Regions from separate parts of the Homo sapiens genome. Here all the other regions are linked to region 1. Evidence: promoter capture Hi-C in 16 types of primary human blood cells and fetal thymus (Javierre and others, 2016). All regions are on one chromosome and are shown on one strand. Each heading gives the region's core, a stretch centred on a gene start or on the middle of the fragment in contact. The rest is flanking DNA. Distances are from core to core; before and after follow the strand shown. Region 1 holds the start of HNRNPK (heterogeneous nuclear ribonucleoprotein K). Region 2 holds the start of SMC5 (structural maintenance of chromosomes 5). Region 3 holds the start of KLF9 (KLF transcription factor 9). Region 4 holds the start of ZFAND5 (zinc finger AN1-type containing 5).

What was found. Contacts are between HindIII fragments. The CHiCAGO score rates a contact against its expected background, and 5 or more counts as called.
Region 2: a contact is called between the fragment with the promoter of SMC5 here and the fragment with the promoter of HNRNPK in region 1, in 1 of 17 cell types (fetal thymus). The highest score is 9.0, in fetal thymus.
Region 3: a contact is called between the fragment with the promoter of KLF9 here and the fragment with the promoter of HNRNPK in region 1, in 1 of 17 cell types (total B cells). The highest score is 6.8, in total B cells.
Region 4: the fragment with the promoter of ZFAND5 here is called in contact with the fragment with the promoter of HNRNPK in region 1 in 1 of 17 cell types (fetal thymus); the score reaches 7.2 in fetal thymus.

Annotation. Positions count from the first base shown.
Region 1 is chr9:83,978,270-83,981,972 of GRCh38, reverse strand. It overlaps HNRNPK (heterogeneous nuclear ribonucleoprotein K), which reads left to right and starts at 1,758. Exons shown (of 17, transcript NM_031263.4): 1 at 1,758-1,820; 2 at 3,521-3,600; 3 at 3,694-3,703. RMI1 (RecQ mediated genome instability 1) reads right to left here and starts at 1,168. Exons shown (of 3, transcript NM_001358291.2): 1 at 1,082-1,168. RefSeq lists silencers at 755-834, 1,645-1,784 and enhancers at 479-987, 1,045-1,134, 1,155-1,224, 1,355-1,414, 988-1,495 and 2 more. The HindIII fragment of the contact is 2,357 bases long and covers 455-2,811 here.
Region 2 is chr9:70,257,261-70,260,963 of GRCh38, reverse strand. SMC5 (structural maintenance of chromosomes 5) reads right to left here and starts at 1,986. Exons shown (of 25, transcript NM_015110.4): 1 at 1,701-1,986. The coding sequence starts at 1,885. SMC5-DT (SMC5 divergent transcript) reads left to right here and starts at 2,090. Exons shown (of 4, transcript NR_039990.1): 1 at 2,090-2,568; 2 at 3,029-3,049. RefSeq lists enhancers at 1,700-1,899, 2,230-2,419 and a silencer at 1,940-2,159. The HindIII fragment of the contact is 2,740 bases long and covers 544-3,283 here.
Region 3 is chr9:70,412,635-70,416,337 of GRCh38, reverse strand. It overlaps KLF9 (KLF transcription factor 9), which reads left to right and starts at 1,681. Exons shown (of 2, transcript NM_001206.4): 1 at 1,681-3,479. The coding sequence starts at 2,975. It overlaps KLF9-DT (KLF9 divergent transcript), which reads right to left and starts at 2,148. Exons shown (of 4, transcript XR_001746710.3): 1 at 1,928-2,148. LOC124900273 (a long non-coding RNA gene) reads left to right here and starts at 3,532. Exons shown (of 2, transcript XR_007061576.1): 1 at 3,532-3,703. RefSeq lists enhancers at 1,969-2,098, 2,439-2,518, 2,347-3,200, 3,539-3,648, a promoter at 1,830-2,632 and a silencer at 2,809-2,988. The HindIII fragment of the contact is 11,812 bases long and covers 1-3,703 here.
Region 4 is chr9:72,363,118-72,366,820 of GRCh38, reverse strand. It overlaps ZFAND5 (zinc finger AN1-type containing 5), which reads left to right and starts at 1,613. Exons shown (of 7, transcript NM_001102420.3): 1 at 1,613-2,125; 2 at 3,215-3,351. RefSeq lists silencers at 1,375-1,754, 1,765-2,594 and enhancers at 1,202-1,906, 1,907-2,610. The HindIII fragment of the contact is 8,298 bases long and covers 1-3,703 here.

The sequences.
Region 1 (3,703 bases), core at 509-3,008:
TCCCGGACATTATGTTCTAACAGCATGTGTTAACGTATCCTCCCAGAATGTAAATACTGGTGTTTGTCATGAAATCCTCAGTGCGCCCTAACAAGAGTTTTCCTCTAATCAGTCAAGTAAAAGATGCTGGGTGGATGCAATCATGGCCATTTAAAAGAATGCTGGTATATATGTTTTGCAAATTACCCAAGAAGGAAACATTATAACAGGAATGAATCAGCACAAATTCATCAACACTAAAATATATGCATGTATTCGGCCAATGGTGGATTTCGCTTTATGTGCAGATTATGACACCTTTATGCTTCAAAATGAGTTTGGGATTGTGGGCGGAGGCTGGAAGGTTGACGAGTAAGGATGTGGAAAGCGGGTACTACCAGGGCTGGAGATTTCCCAGGGCTGTCACCGATTGAAAGTGACCTTATGTGCCTTAACAAAGGAAGTCATGAAAGCTTGGCACAGGAGCCTTAAAAGTAAGGAACCGAATACAATGCAAGTGTGCGCTGAACCCGCTAGAACAGGAGCACGTTTGAGGGCAAGGGTTTTTGTCTGTTTTCATCACTGCCACAAGGCAGGCGCTTTGAATGGAACGTGGAGGTCTGCAACGTATTCAGCGATACGCATTCATTTTAGGAGACAAGGGCAATACATATTGCCTAAAAATTTTATCGGAATAAACTACAGCGACGACACTACAAAATACTTCCATCTCAGGTCCCATTACCCAAGAGGAAAGTCTCAGAACCGAGAGCCCTGTGAAACCGCCTGTGCCCTCTCGGCGAGAAGTTCTCCAGTACTCCCAGGCTCGCCCCGCGTTTCCCCGGCTCCCGCCCCGGCGCAAGGCAGGCCGAGAACCGCCAGCTGCGCCCCCGGGCCCGGCCTTGACTGACGGGCGCCCCGGACCATTACAAACAACGGGTTTCCGAAGCGTGGGCCCGGCCCAGCGGACGCAGACGGCCCGCACTTACCGCGCCGCAGCTCGTCCCACAGCCCACAGACCACAGCCCGGGGCGGGGTAAGGGGCTTCGGGCACGAGTGTGGGCTGTGAAAACACGGGCATAAGTCTGGGCCGAGCACCGACCTGGGCGTCCCGCATTTTCCTCGCGCAACATCGGTCCCTGGGCAGCGCAACTGTAAGGACAGGAACCGCCGCGGCGCGCTCCCAGTTCCTTTTTTACCTCTTCCCGCCCGATTTGCCGCGCGCTCGCGCCCCTCCTCCAACCCCAAAGGACTCCTTCGGGGCTGGAAAACGCCCCTTCCCCGCCCCCTCCCTGTGCGCGTGAACTAGGCAGTTGTTAGATCTCGCGAGAGGTTCGCCCCCTAGCCGCCCCTCCCCCCAGCTAGTGAGTGCGCGAACGAGAAAGGAGGAGGGCGCTCCAGGCGACAGCACTGCAGACGCCATTATCCTCTGTTTCTCTGCTGCACCGACCTCGACGTCTTGCCTGTGTCCCACTTGTTCGCGGCCTATAGGTAATTGGAGTTATTGGAGCTTGGGTATTGCTGATTCGGGTAAGGGTTGGGGCTCCCTGAAAGGCTGCGTTTACTTTTCCCAAGCCCGGGTTTTCTCGAGCCCTTAGTGGCCTCCCAGCCCGAAGGGAGGCGCTGGCGGGAGGCGGGGTTGTCGCCTCCTCCGTCGCCTTGATTGACGTGGCCTCGGGCCAATCGCTTCGCCCTCGCACCATCGCTGAAGCCCTGGCAGCCAATAGGGCGCGACGGCGGGGAGGACGCGAGAAGGCGGGGGAGGGGAGCCTGCGCTCGTTTTCTGTCTAGCTCCGACCGGCTGAGGCGGCGCGGCAGCGGAGGGACGGCAGTCTCGCGCGGTGAGGAGCCGGGTTGGGGGAGCGGCTCGTGGAGGTGAGGGTCGGAGCCCAGTTTTTCCGCTTGAGGGAGGCGTCCTGGGAGCCGCTTTGGTGTTTGGCCGCTTCTCCGAGTGGGAACGTTGCCCGGTGTCCCCTCCCCCACCTCCGCCATTTCCCTGAGCGTGTATCCGCAGTCCGCGTTGTGGTCCTAGAGACTTGGGGATTCGTGAGGCATGTGCCTCTAGGATGAGCTGGAGCTATGTGGCACTGGGAACTAGGGACCTCGTGGAGGAAAGGAGGCCGGTGCGGGGAGAAGGTCGCGCCGCCGCTCTCTTTGTGTGAGCCCCGCCTCACCTTGGGTCTCCCGGCCCGGGGTCGGAGCTGGAGCGGCGGGGATGGAACGGTCAGGGCTGCCTCGATGGCTTTGTCTCGGGCAGTGGGGGGAGGATGCGGGGGATGAGACCTCGGGACCGCGTGGTGGGTGGGGGAGGGGGTCGGCGCTCGGCTCCGCCTAGTAGCACGTAGTCGCCATTACGCGGGCCGCCATTTCCTGTCGGATCCGGGTGAGGAGAGGTGCGGTGCTTCTGCTGTCGACTTTCGCTTTTTCCCGTCCTGTTACCCGGCTGTTTTTGATCTCGGTGCCGGGAGGCGGGGAGGGGAGGGCGCGTTGGCGCTCGGCCAGTGGAGCACATACTTAGCGGATTTTTGAGGCCTGGGGACTAGTGACTGCAGGACCCGAAGGGTGAACGGCAAGCGGCAACGTTATTCTTACAGATAAGCCCTGCTGTTTTTGCTTAAACTTTCTTATCCAACTCTTCTCCCACCACACCTCAGAAATTGCGTGCTGGGCCGGAAGGATGTCGTTTCAGTTGTCGTTAGGAGAGCAATAAGTCGACCAACGGTATGGGAGAATGGGAGGCATAAATGTGCCTCGCTTGTTGGCTCTTTGCTGTCTAGCCAACCTTCTAGTAGAGGCCGCTTGTCAACTCCTAGTCCCGACAAGAGGGAAGCTTAAAAAGGCTGTTTGTAGTCCTATCGACCGTTTTGGCACGTAGACACTTTAGTTTTCGTGTTACAGGCATGATTGTTGTGTTGTACTCCCTTAAGCCTAATTTAAAATAATCCGCTAGTGACTGTTAGTTTTCAAGGGCTCCATTTGTTTCGCTGATTAATAATAGACTGGTATTGTGGTAGTTTGGGTCTGGTCCTATATTAGATTTTTGGATTTATCCCTCCGGTAGATTGTTCTGGTTGTTGGATGTGTTCGCAATTGCCGTTGTATTTGTAAACTTTAGAGATGTCACATAAGATCGCTTCAAGCATGAGTCGAAAGAAATAGGAAAGCAATTGGAAGTTTTAATATAAAATTAGTTTTCCCAGTGAATAAGATGCATTGTAACTTTTCATAAATGTATGCTTTGTGGATGACATTTATCTTTTCAGGGTTTTGGGAATGTGCCGTATAAAACAATTCATTGCTGTGGTGGGACTTAATCCAGTGGCTAAAAGTTATTGTTCTAACTTAGCAAAAAATGAAACCAGGCTCCCTTGAATTTTGTATTTTTTAGGCAGTCATTTGAATTGTGAAACCCTAAAATGAAGAATCAAGTTTTAGAAACAGCTGGTTTTTTGGGTTCAAATCAGTATTCACTGTGATCGGAAACAAATATTCAGTAATAAGAATAAACAAAAGCAAAACTGATTTGTGTTGGTTCTTATAGGCTACTGCAGCACTGGGGTGTCAGTTGTTGGTCCGACCCAGAACGCTTCAGTTCTGCTCTGCAAGGATATATAATAACTGGTACGTTCTAGAAGCAATGTCTTTTTTTTTTTTTTTTTTTTACAGCTTGCTTTCCAATAAGCCAAATGTACTAGCTGCTTTATTTTTCCACAGATTGGTGTGC
Region 2 (3,703 bases), core at 737-3,236, about 14 Mb after region 1:
CGAAACTAGCCTGGGCAACATGGTGAAACCCCATCTCTACAAAAAAATTTTAAAACATTAGCCAGGTATGGTACGCGCCTATAGTCCGAGCTACTTGAAAGGCTGAGGTAGGAGGATCACTTGAGAAGGGGAGGTCCAGGCTTCACGGAGCCCTGATCATGCCACTGAGCTCCAGCGTGGGCAACAGAGCAAGACCAAAGACTTTCATATCTTCTTTACAAAGCCCTTTCTCATACTCGTAGACAAAACTAACCACTTCATCCTTTGTGAAGGATCCTGATATATGTTGTTATGGTATCTAACTCATTTGATTACATTTATCTTTCCTGATCTGGATTCAAATAGCAATGCAACTATGTAACAGCTGCGTAAAACTGGGCAAAATAACCTACTGAGCTTCTTTCAGCAATGGAAATTATCAAGATAGAGTTGTTATGAAGAAAGAATGAGTGCACTATGTACCTGGCACACAATAGGTGCTTGAAAAAAAAAGGTAGTATTGTTATTACAATTCTGTTATCCTTATGCCACTATGTGCAAGCTTTAAAAAGACTTCCGGCCGGACATGGTGGCTCACGCCTGTAATCCCAGCACTACGGGAGGCCGAGGCGGGCAGATCACCTGAGGTCAAAAGTTCCAGATCAGCCTGGTCAACACGGTGAAACCGCGAGTCTACTAAAATACAAAAAAAAATAGCTGGGCGTGGTGGCGGCTGGCTGTAATCCCAGCTACGCGGGAGGCTGAGGCAGGAGAATTGATTGAAACTGGGAGGCGGAGGTTGCAGTGAGCCGAGATTGCGCCACTACCTTCCAGCCCGGACGACAGTATGACACTCCGTCTCAAAAACAAAAACTAGCCGGGCGTGGTGGCGCGCGCCTGTAGTCCCAGCTACTCGGGAGGCTGACCCAGAAGAATCGCTTGAAACCGAGAGGCGGAAGTTGCAGTGGGCCGAGATCGCGGCACAGCACTCCATCCAGCGTGGGCTACAGGAGCGCAACTCCGTCTCAAAAAAAAAGAGGAAAAAAAAAAAAAAAAAGACCTGGAACAAATGAACTGGAAGGTGCTAGGCAAATACATGATATATTTAAAACTTACTAAATTCTAAAGCGGTAACTAGTTGTCTGAAGGGGAGAGGGAGGAACCAGGGAAGAAAACTGGGTTTAGTGGGGTCAAGGGTTTGTAGGGAGGTCCAACAATTGCCAGTAAGTGTTTAATTTTTTTGTACCTGTAACCTCCATTCCCGAACAACCTTTACCGTCTTATCTACTCCTCTCTGGCAAATGCCTACCCTAAGAATCCGCCACAGCATCACTATCACGCCGAATTAACTGTTGCCTCCTCTTAAGTTCCCGGGGACAATACTTCTGTGAATTCCAGACCAGGGCCGCTATGGATCGCGACTCCCAGCGGGCAGAGACCTACTCCCTCCTACAACCACTACCTGCTACATGACACCTTTGGAAAACCTTGGCTGACTAAATTTAAAAACCACATCACCCAAGGCACACATCTCCTACATCATACACGTCAATCTCCACAGCCTACGTAGGAAAATCCTCAAGGGAACCCCGGCACGAATTCAAGGCCAGACCCACAAGCCAGGTACACACCCACACGCCCACGCCCGCGCGCTGCCGGAGCCCCGGGGCCTGCTGGCCAGCACACCTCCACACCCGCGGCGCGGCCTCCGGGCAACTTACAGGAAGTTCTCCATCGAGATGCGGACGATAGAGCCTTCCACGAAAGGCCCGGACGACTGCAACAGCGGCAGCTGCGGGGCCGAATTCTTCCTCTTGCTCGGGACCTCCGACGAAGGGTCTCTCGGGAGAGCTCTCTTGGAAGGCTGGGGGCTTGGAGTTGACGTCTTCTTGCTCGGAGTCGCCATCCTGGCTTCCTCAGCGTCCCACAGCGACTTCCGTTCCCACCGTCCGGCAGCCCAGGCGCCCAAGCGCCCATCCACCCAGGCGCCCCGCTCCCGCGCGAACTGCCGCGAACTGTTACCGCGCGCTCGCTCCCGCGATCTCGCGCCGCGCCTGCGCAGTTCAGGTCCGGCGACGTCAGCAGGCCCGCCCCGCCCCTCCCGCGCTCCGCCGCGCTGTGCGAGGCCCAGACTGAGGGCGAAACAGCAGGCAGGACTGGGTGGAGACGTTCGGGGACGTGGCAACTGGAGTTTCTTCTCCGTATATTTCGGCATTCAGTTCCTTTTTTTTTTTGTTTTAACTCAGGAAAAAATCTCAATTGCGTTTAGTATTTTGAAAGCCACTTTATTGCTTCCCGAGCCTCAGTCATGTGTGGTGGGAGGCTGCTGTGGGTGGCACCTGGGGCGTCCACGGCCGCCAAGGCGGGAGGACGTCAGGCCCTGCTTGCTCCCACCCCTTCCAGGTGAGAGCTCCCGGGCACGCCCGTCGTTGGCTCTTCGTCCTCTTGGTGTTCTTCCCTGTTGCTTCAAATCAGGTTCCTGTCTCAAAAATCCGAAAAAGAAATCCTCCCAAATGACTCTGTGCCCGACGCTCCGTTAAGGCATCGTGCTAGGCGTTCTCAAACTCGTGAAATGACTACACTGCACAGGTTAACCTCATTGCTACTCTTCCCCTTGCCTCCTAATTCTCTGGTTAAACTTCCGCCCCCGAGGTTTCTAGAAATCCCTGAGCTGGAATGCGCTGCCTTCATTAAGAGGGTGTTCTGCTTCCGTCTGCTCACATTCATCTAGTAAGCCCTCTCGTTAAAGAGGAGGCAGCACACCGAGGCCTGTCTAGAACTTCTTTCATTTAACCAACAGTGAATATCTAATCTACAAGAAACTGGAGCCGTGGCAGTTTAGGAGCCTGCCAAGGTTGCATCCCTGGGAGCTTATTTTCTATTGTGGGAGACAGGAAAAGAACAAGTGAATCAACTGTGAAATTAAATAATTCAAACTTAAAGCTGTTGGAACTTTAAATTATTCTGAGCCTTGCGAAGAATGTGGCGATGGGGCCTGAGTCCCATGGCATACAGCTGCAATGTCTGCCTTGTTTTTTCCTATAATCAGGAAGACCAAACAGAGACAGAGGTAAGACCCCCTCAGATCACTACCCCCTTCATAAATTAATATAGTTATCTTCCTTGGAATGTAGCTATCTATAACTAATCTAATCGCTGTAATTTATGCACTGCTCTTGTATTGAAAATGTACTCCTGCTGAACCTTCTCTGTTTCTGCCTGTGTAAATGAAACCTTAACTTCACTTTGGAACATTGACCCTATTTGTTTGGAGTTGGTGTTTCCAGGTGGCTGTCCTCAAGCTTTGCGTTAGAATAAACTCTATACTTAATGATATTTTCTGAATTTCACTACTTAAGGCTGACACAACAAATGATTAGCATAATGTCAGACTGTGACAGGTGTTAGGAAGAAAACAAAATGAACCTGATGGGTGGGAGGTACGGAAGGCCTCTTAGAGAGGTGGTGGTGTTTAAGATAAACTCTGAAGGACGAGAAGAAACTGTGACGATCTGAGAAAAGAGCACCCCAGGCAAAAGAATTTTGCTGGAACATACCAGTAAGGACAAAAGCTCTGAGGTGGGAAGGCCAGTGTTGCTGCAGAGCAGTGAACAAGGTTGCAGAGCAGAACCTTGTCCATCGTGGAAAAGCCTGAATTTTATTTTTAAAGCAATGGGAAGCCATTGCAAAGTTTTAAGCAGGAGAGGGCCATGTTCTGACTAAA
Region 3 (3,703 bases), core at 432-2,931, about 14 Mb after region 1:
GTATATGCACTGGGCCTTGAGGCAGGCAAAGGTGCAATTTCTAAGTGATCGTGTATCCTAGGGGACAAAATTTGTCCCAGAAAAATCATGAAGTAGGCAAACTCCCCTGGGCTTCAGTGAATTCTTTTCTAAAATTAAGAGATTAAGTTCTAAAAATGCAAGAACTCCAAGATGGCTTGGAGTTTTTTATACACTGTATACCTACCTTACAGGGATGCATGCAGGGTGCTTGGTACAGGGCCTGACACAGAGTAAGCCCTCCATGAAAGGGGTCGGTGATAATGATGCTGATGGTGATGATATTCTTGGTTGCCCAGTATCCCCTATCTACACCTTTCTTCCACCTGCAGTCACCTACTGCAATATCTTCCCTGTACCACTTTAATATTTTTGTTGTTGTTTTCTTTATTTTTTTAAGCTGTACACTTTTATTGAACTGGTCTTGTCAGGTTTGTTATTTTTTAATTAAAATCTATTATACTCTTACTTACCTGAGCCACCCTTAGTTATGATTTAAAAAAAAACAAAAAAAACAGGGCCTTGCTCTGTTGCCCAGGCTGGAGTAGTACAGTGGTGTAATCAGGGCTCACTGCAGCCTTGACCTAGGCTGACGCAGTCCTTCAGCCTCAGCCTCCTGAGTAGCTGGGACTACAGGTGCGAGCCACCACGCCTGGCTAACTTTTTTTTTATTATTATTATTTTTGATGTACCACTTTAAAAACAAAGTCAAAAGAAACTACTGTAGATCTCACATTGGTAGAGTCAATTTGAGACCCTTGCCTCGGAGACCAGAACCTGGTGTAACTTTCTCTTAACAAAGGTTAATAGCCAGTGGGGGGTCAGGGTTGGAACTCACCGAATCTGCATCACATAGAATCAGGTACCTCTCACATTCACGAAAGTGAATTATTTTTAATGAATTGTGCTGACAGTATGCCTCTTGCAAAAAGAACTAGCCCTAGATTCTTTTCTAGCTATCAAGATGGAAAACAACCACATCGTTAATTCAGACGGAGGGGTAAACCAAGTTAATCAGACTCCAAGACCCATACTAATTGTTGACCAAGTAATGCCACAGTATTCCATGGCTAAGGATTTCCAGCTTGTTCCAGTCCCTAAAAATCTGTTCTGCACAGTTAATATTTCACAAAACCAAAAGGGCTTAGTTGCAAGCACAAAGAGCTAGAAATCAGGAGACTTGTGGTTTCTATTGAGTTCTATCATTATCTGTCTAATAAGATAAATAAGTCACTTCTCTGTAACTCAGTTTCCACATTTGTGAAGTGAGGGAAGAGAAACATGTCCTAAAAACCATGCAGGGGCTCTGGAAAGAAAAAGAGCTAAGAATGGTGGGTTTTTTATAAAAGTTACACAAATGAATGGTTTTTGTCTCCGTTTTTCTGAAAGTGGGTTAAAAATAGCCTCCAAATAAAGCTAAAAGAATTTATTTAGACTAAATTGCACCAGAGAAGTAGAGGAATTAAGAGATATGACAAGCAAAGATGGGATGTTTCAATGGAAGAATCTCAGGCAGTAAAAAGGCTATGCTGTAAAACCAGAACTTTTGTTAGCACTGCATTTTTAAGATGAATTGGTCATAGTTAATGTATTGGATGGAAGAATTTTTAAACATCTGCCCCAAAGTATGCTGCATCCAAAAAATATATAACAAAACGAATTCTTACTCATTTGTGTTTATTCTTGGACTTATCCTGACATAATGGGGTTTTTTTAATTATAGATTCACACTGCATTTATTCATCACCCCTGTCCTCTCATCCATAACTCAAATTTACTACCAGCAACACAAAATACAAAGATGTGTCCAGTTTCACTACAGCTCTTCGCGTTTACAAGTGTCGAGCGCTTGCTTTCGGAACGCCCTTGTGATTGGCCGAGCCAATGCCAGTGACATCAACCAACTTACTTTTGATTGGAAGGCTGGTTGCTGGGACTGTAGCGTTTGCAGGAAGTCACTTAACTGTTTGGGAGCTGGAAAACCGAAGCTGAAGTTCTCTTTTGCCATAGGAACGAGCGCAACTGACTAGGAAAGATGTGTCCCAAAGCTCCGCAAGCTGGAACGTGAGCCAGGAGGCCCGGACCGGCCACGGGACCGCGAGGCACTCCGAAAGTGTGCGGCTGCCCCTTCCCTGCCTCCCAGCTGTTACCCTTTTAAATGTCAGTGTTCGAGGCTGTAGGGGTAGCACGAGGCAGCGAAACGGAACAGTCGGATTGGCCGCACGCCTCAGTTCTAGACGCACCTCTCCACCGAAGGCCGTTCTGACTGGCAGGGGGAGAAAGTAAACAGAGTTGAATCACCCTCCCCACTGGCCAATTGGAGGGGGTTTGGTTTGTGACGTGATGGGATTCTGCGAAATTGTTACTGAGCAAGAGAATGCCGGAACGGTGCGGACCGGCCGGAGCAGGGGTTCAGAAGCCGTCAGTGGACTCGGGAAAAAGTGTCTCTTAGACCTGGCGCTCGGCGGGACCCTCGCCACCCGCGTCGGGGTGATCGGGTGAATGTCCTGGGGCTTTGGCTCGACGGCGAGGCGGCCGAGGGCGTGCACCTCTCTTGCAGTTTCCTCTCCCAGCGCCTCGGGGGCGTTTTCAGTCGAATAAACTTGCGACCGCCACGTGTGGCATCTTTCCAAGGGAGCCGGCTCAGAGGGGCCGGCGCGCCCGTCGGGGGATCGCGGCCGGCGCGGGGCAGGGGCGGCGGCTAGAGGCGGCGGCGCGGCGGAGCCCGGGGCCGTGGATGCTGCGTGCGGAGGCGCTGCCGGTTACGTAAAGATGAGGGGCTGAGGTCGCCTCGGCGCTCCTGCGAGTCGGAAGCGCCCCGCGCCCCCGCCCCCTTGGCCGCCGCGCCGTGCCGCGCCGCGCCGCGCTCGTCGTCCGAGGCCAGGGCAGGGCGAGCCGAACCTCCGCAGCCACCGCCAAGTTTGTCCGCGCCGCCTGGGCTGCCGTCGCCCGCACCATGTCCGCGGCCGCCTACATGGACTTCGTGGCTGCCCAGTGTCTGGTTTCCATTTCGAACCGCGCTGCGGTGCCGGAGCATGGGGTCGCTCCGGACGCCGAGCGGCTGCGACTACCTGAGCGCGAGGTGACCAAGGAGCACGGTGACCCGGGGGACACCTGGAAGGATTACTGCACACTGGTCACCATCGCCAAGAGCTTGTTGGACCTGAACAAGTACCGACCCATCCAGACCCCCTCCGTGTGCAGCGACAGTCTGGAAAGTCCAGATGAGGATATGGGATCCGACAGCGACGTGACCACCGAATCTGGGTCGAGTCCTTCCCACAGCCCGGAGGAGAGACAGGATCCTGGCAGCGCGCCCAGCCCGCTCTCCCTCCTCCATCCTGGAGTGGCTGCGAAGGGGAAACACGCCTCCGAAAAGAGGCACAAGTGCCCCTACAGTGGCTGTGGGAAAGTCTATGGAAAATCCTCCCATCTCAAAGCCCATTACAGAGTGCATACAGGTTAGCGGCGTCGCCCTCTCCCCCGGAGCTCTGGGGTTAGTTAACCTTTGGCCAGGCAGCGTTCCTGGGCGTTCGGGACACTGCACTCGGCCGAAAGGGTGCAAACATGTTGGATAAGATGCGGTTTAACTCTTTAAATAATTTAAATGTGCATTGGCGGAAAGCTCACTCTCTCCTTAATTGTCCCCGGCCTCCGGGAGCCACGGAGAGCCTTAAACTGGCGG
Region 4 (3,703 bases), core at 364-2,863, about 12 Mb after region 1:
CTTTTTAGTCATTGTTTCTTTATCTGTAGAAAGGGACATGATAATAGTACCTATCTCAGTGAATTGCTGTGAGGATAAAATGAGACCCTAAATGGAAAATAGTTGGCACTGAAAATGGCCTGTAAATGGTAGCTGCTATTTTTTTTTTTTTTTTACTAATTCATCTGCTAATTTAAGGAAATAAATTGCAGTGGTCGTGGGACCAGTGACCCAAACTACTTAAATCTCTAATACATTAATTGATCACAGTAATAAACCCGAATTTGTTAAAAAACAAAACAAAAGGTTGTTATGCTCCAGGTACTTTGCTAACTGTGGCGGAGAACTGTTTGATTTGGCAGTGGTGGCTCAAGCTATCAGTATAGCATTCCCCCAAATACAGATTATAAATAAGGACCACCTGAAGCGCAATATGGGCCCCCCCCCACCCCCGCTCCCACCCCGGAACAACCAAAACCATATCCAGGGGAGATGCGTAGGAATCTTTAATCACCCCAGGTGATTTTTTTTCTGATTACCAACTTTGAGAAACACTGAAGGGACCTCTTCTCCATTCTATATGTGGCTAATATAAACCCTAAACATCATTTCTATGTATTCGTTAGACCGTTGTTTACTAGAAAATTTCAGAAGTCCTTTCCGACTTAGTAATTTTGTTATTTTGAGTTGAACTGAAATTCACTTGGAGCGGTCAGTTGAAAATGTTTTTTGTTTGTGCTCTGAAAAGGTTCCCAGTGTTCCGGGTAAAGTCATCCTTTCACCCATGGGGGACCTGTGCCTCGTGCCTGAACTGCCCGCCTAGTACCTCCCCCCTTGAACTTCCTCTCGCAAGCCTCCTCCTCCCGCTTCATCTGGGCCTCGGGTCTAGCTTGTTTTGTCCCTTCGCGGCTTTTGAGTAGAACATTTGGTGCTTTCCCAGTTCACGACGCTTTGCTGGAATCGTCAATTTCCAGGGATTTCACAGGCTGGCCAAAACAGTTTGTTCAGAACAGCGCCGCCGGGGCATTGGCAGCCCTGGGCGGCCGCGCGTTTCCTCACTCCGCACAACCACCCGTGACCTTGGGCGAGCGAACGCACGCCGCCAGCTGCGTCAGGGCCACGCTCGGGCTGGACTTCGGAGCTCAAAATGGGTGTGGGGAGTGAGGAGGTTTCATAAACAGAAAAGACCTCGAAGCCATAAGGCAATTCTTTTCCTTTTCTGGGGGTGAATCCTTACGATTCTTGGGGGAGGGAATGTCTGCCCAGGGCTGGAGACAAAGCGTGAGAACTAGGATGGCGAAAAACGGGTTTGAATGAGAAAATCCGAAGGAGGGAGGCTGAGGGCGGACAATTGGGTTAAAAATAGAAACGCATCCTCCACAGGACTCGCTCTTCCCAGCTCCACCCTAGGGGCCGACTGCCAGGCCAGTGGCTGGGCTCCGCGAGAAGGCACAGCAACCCGTCTCGGCCCCGCCTCCTGGACCTACTGACAGGGCACCGGGGGCGTGGCCTTGGGCCCGCGACGTCACCGCGCTCCCCGCCGCCGCCGCCGCCGCCGGGGTTTTCGCTGACGCACGGGTCCCGCCCCCTCCCCCTCTTTTCCCTCACAGCCCGGGCGCCGGGCGGCGAGTGCGTTAGTCGGCCGGGACGCGGAGCTGTGTGCATCTCCTACGCGGGCTCGCTCGCTCCCGGGAGCCGCGCAGCTTCCCCGGCGGTGGCAGGAGCGGCGAAGAGCGCCATCAGCGGGCCCTTACGGCCCCAGGCCTCGCGGCGCGCGGTCCGCTCGCCCTCCTCGTCCGCCCAACCTGCGGCCTGTGGAGGCGTGAGGCGACGACAGGCGAGCGCCTCGAGCAGCGTTAGCCGCTGCGGCCGCCGGTCCTCCCTCCACCTCCTCCTCGGCCCCCCCTCGCTTCCCTCCTCCCACTTCCCGAGCTCCGGCGTGTCCCGGCCACGCTCGACGCTGCTGCAGGAACAAAGGAAGACCCCGCGGCGGCGGCGGCGCCACCTCCGCCTGCTGCTCCGACCCGCTCCCGGCCCGCGGCGGCGGCACCAGGGCGCCCGGCTCAGCCTTCCCGGAGGCCTCGGCCCGGCCTCATCGTGCCGGCTTCGCGCGCGAACCCGGCTTTCGCATTTGGGACCCTGCAGGGTGAGTGATACGGGGCTGCGGGTGGGAGCCGGGCTCCTTGTTGCCGGGCCGGGGGCGGGAGTGAAGGGACCGGGGCGCCGCGGGCCAATGGCGAAGCCGGAGCAGGCCGCGGATGGCGGCGTCCGGGGGAGGGGAGCCCGCCCGCCAGCCCAGGAAGCACAAAGACGGAGGCGTCATCCTGTCGTCGTGGCCCGAGACCTGGCTCCCGGCGTCCCTGGCTCGCTCCACAGCACGGTCGGGAAACAATGCACGGCGTGCCGCCTCTGCGGGGCCGGCCTCTAGGCCGCTCGCCTCCGCGGCGGCGCCCGGCGTGGGCACCACGACCCAGAGAAACAAAGAGGCCGAGGCGGCGGCCGCGCCCCCTGCCCGTTGCAGCCCCCCCTAGCTCTCCCCTAAGAGGAGCCGTTCGGGGTCGGGGGTCGGGGGTCGGGGATCCGCGTGGGGCCTGCAGGCGAAGGGCTGGCCGGGCCTGCTGAGCTGCTGTTCTGCATGACTCAGTGGTTTTCGGAGAGGGCCCTGTTGGGCTTTATTGAGTGAGGCCTTTGCTTAGAGGGGGATGGGGTATCAGTGGGACCCGAACTTGTTCCAAAATCCATTGGAACATGGGGCCGGGGGTTCTCGGCGTCGTCTTTTGGGCTTCTCGACGTCGCTGCGTTTTTATCCTGAGATCCGTTTTCATGGAGGAAATGGAACACCTCCTTTGTTTGGTGCATTTAGGCTGATGAATGTGAAATTTTTTGCTCGCTTTCCACGCACTCCGTGGAGGTGTGTTTTCGGGGAAGGGTCGGATTATCTTTATTGATTGAGTGTCTCCTAAGGGATAGCATCTAAGGAGATACCAAGATAAAGGAACATATAGGTCACACATCCCCGTTCTTAAACCTGGGATTTAGATACAGACTTCTAAAAACATAAACGAATGTATTTTATTCCTTATTTTTAGGATTTTTTTTAAAGAGTAGGCTTTCAGAACTCAGTTGGTGAAAATACTGCAATTTTATCTTTGAAGTTTTTTGTTAAAATGTTTCCCCACACCCCCCTAAAAAATTAAGGATTCTTTGTAGTTGTCTCCTGTTTTCTATCTCCCAGGCCCTGAAAAGGAGCCTTTAAAAGTCAATTCTACTCCATTTGGCAAAGAGGGAACTGAAATCTGGAAAGTAAGGACTTGCCCAAGGTCACTGACTTAGTGGCAGACTAGAGACTTGAACTCAGGTCTCCATTCCCAGGTGAGTGGGAATTCATGCCATCTCATCACATCATGTGCACCTGAAAGAACTGTATTCCATAGGTGTAAAAGCTCTTTGTTCAGAATTGGAATTGGAGAATTGTTCAGTTACACTCGGGTGTTTTTTTAAGCTGTAAGTTAGAGGAAGCCATAAACTTTATAAAATCTGCATTCTAGCTATACCTGATAGAGCTGACACGTGCATGCTCAAGTTGCTAATTACTTTAAAGGCAATAAATAGTAATGGTATTTTTTTCTAAAATACAAGGGGAATGCAATACCTAATGGGAACACACATCCCCCACTTCATCCCCTAAATCCTCACTAAATGAGGATTCTTTTTTACACTGTCT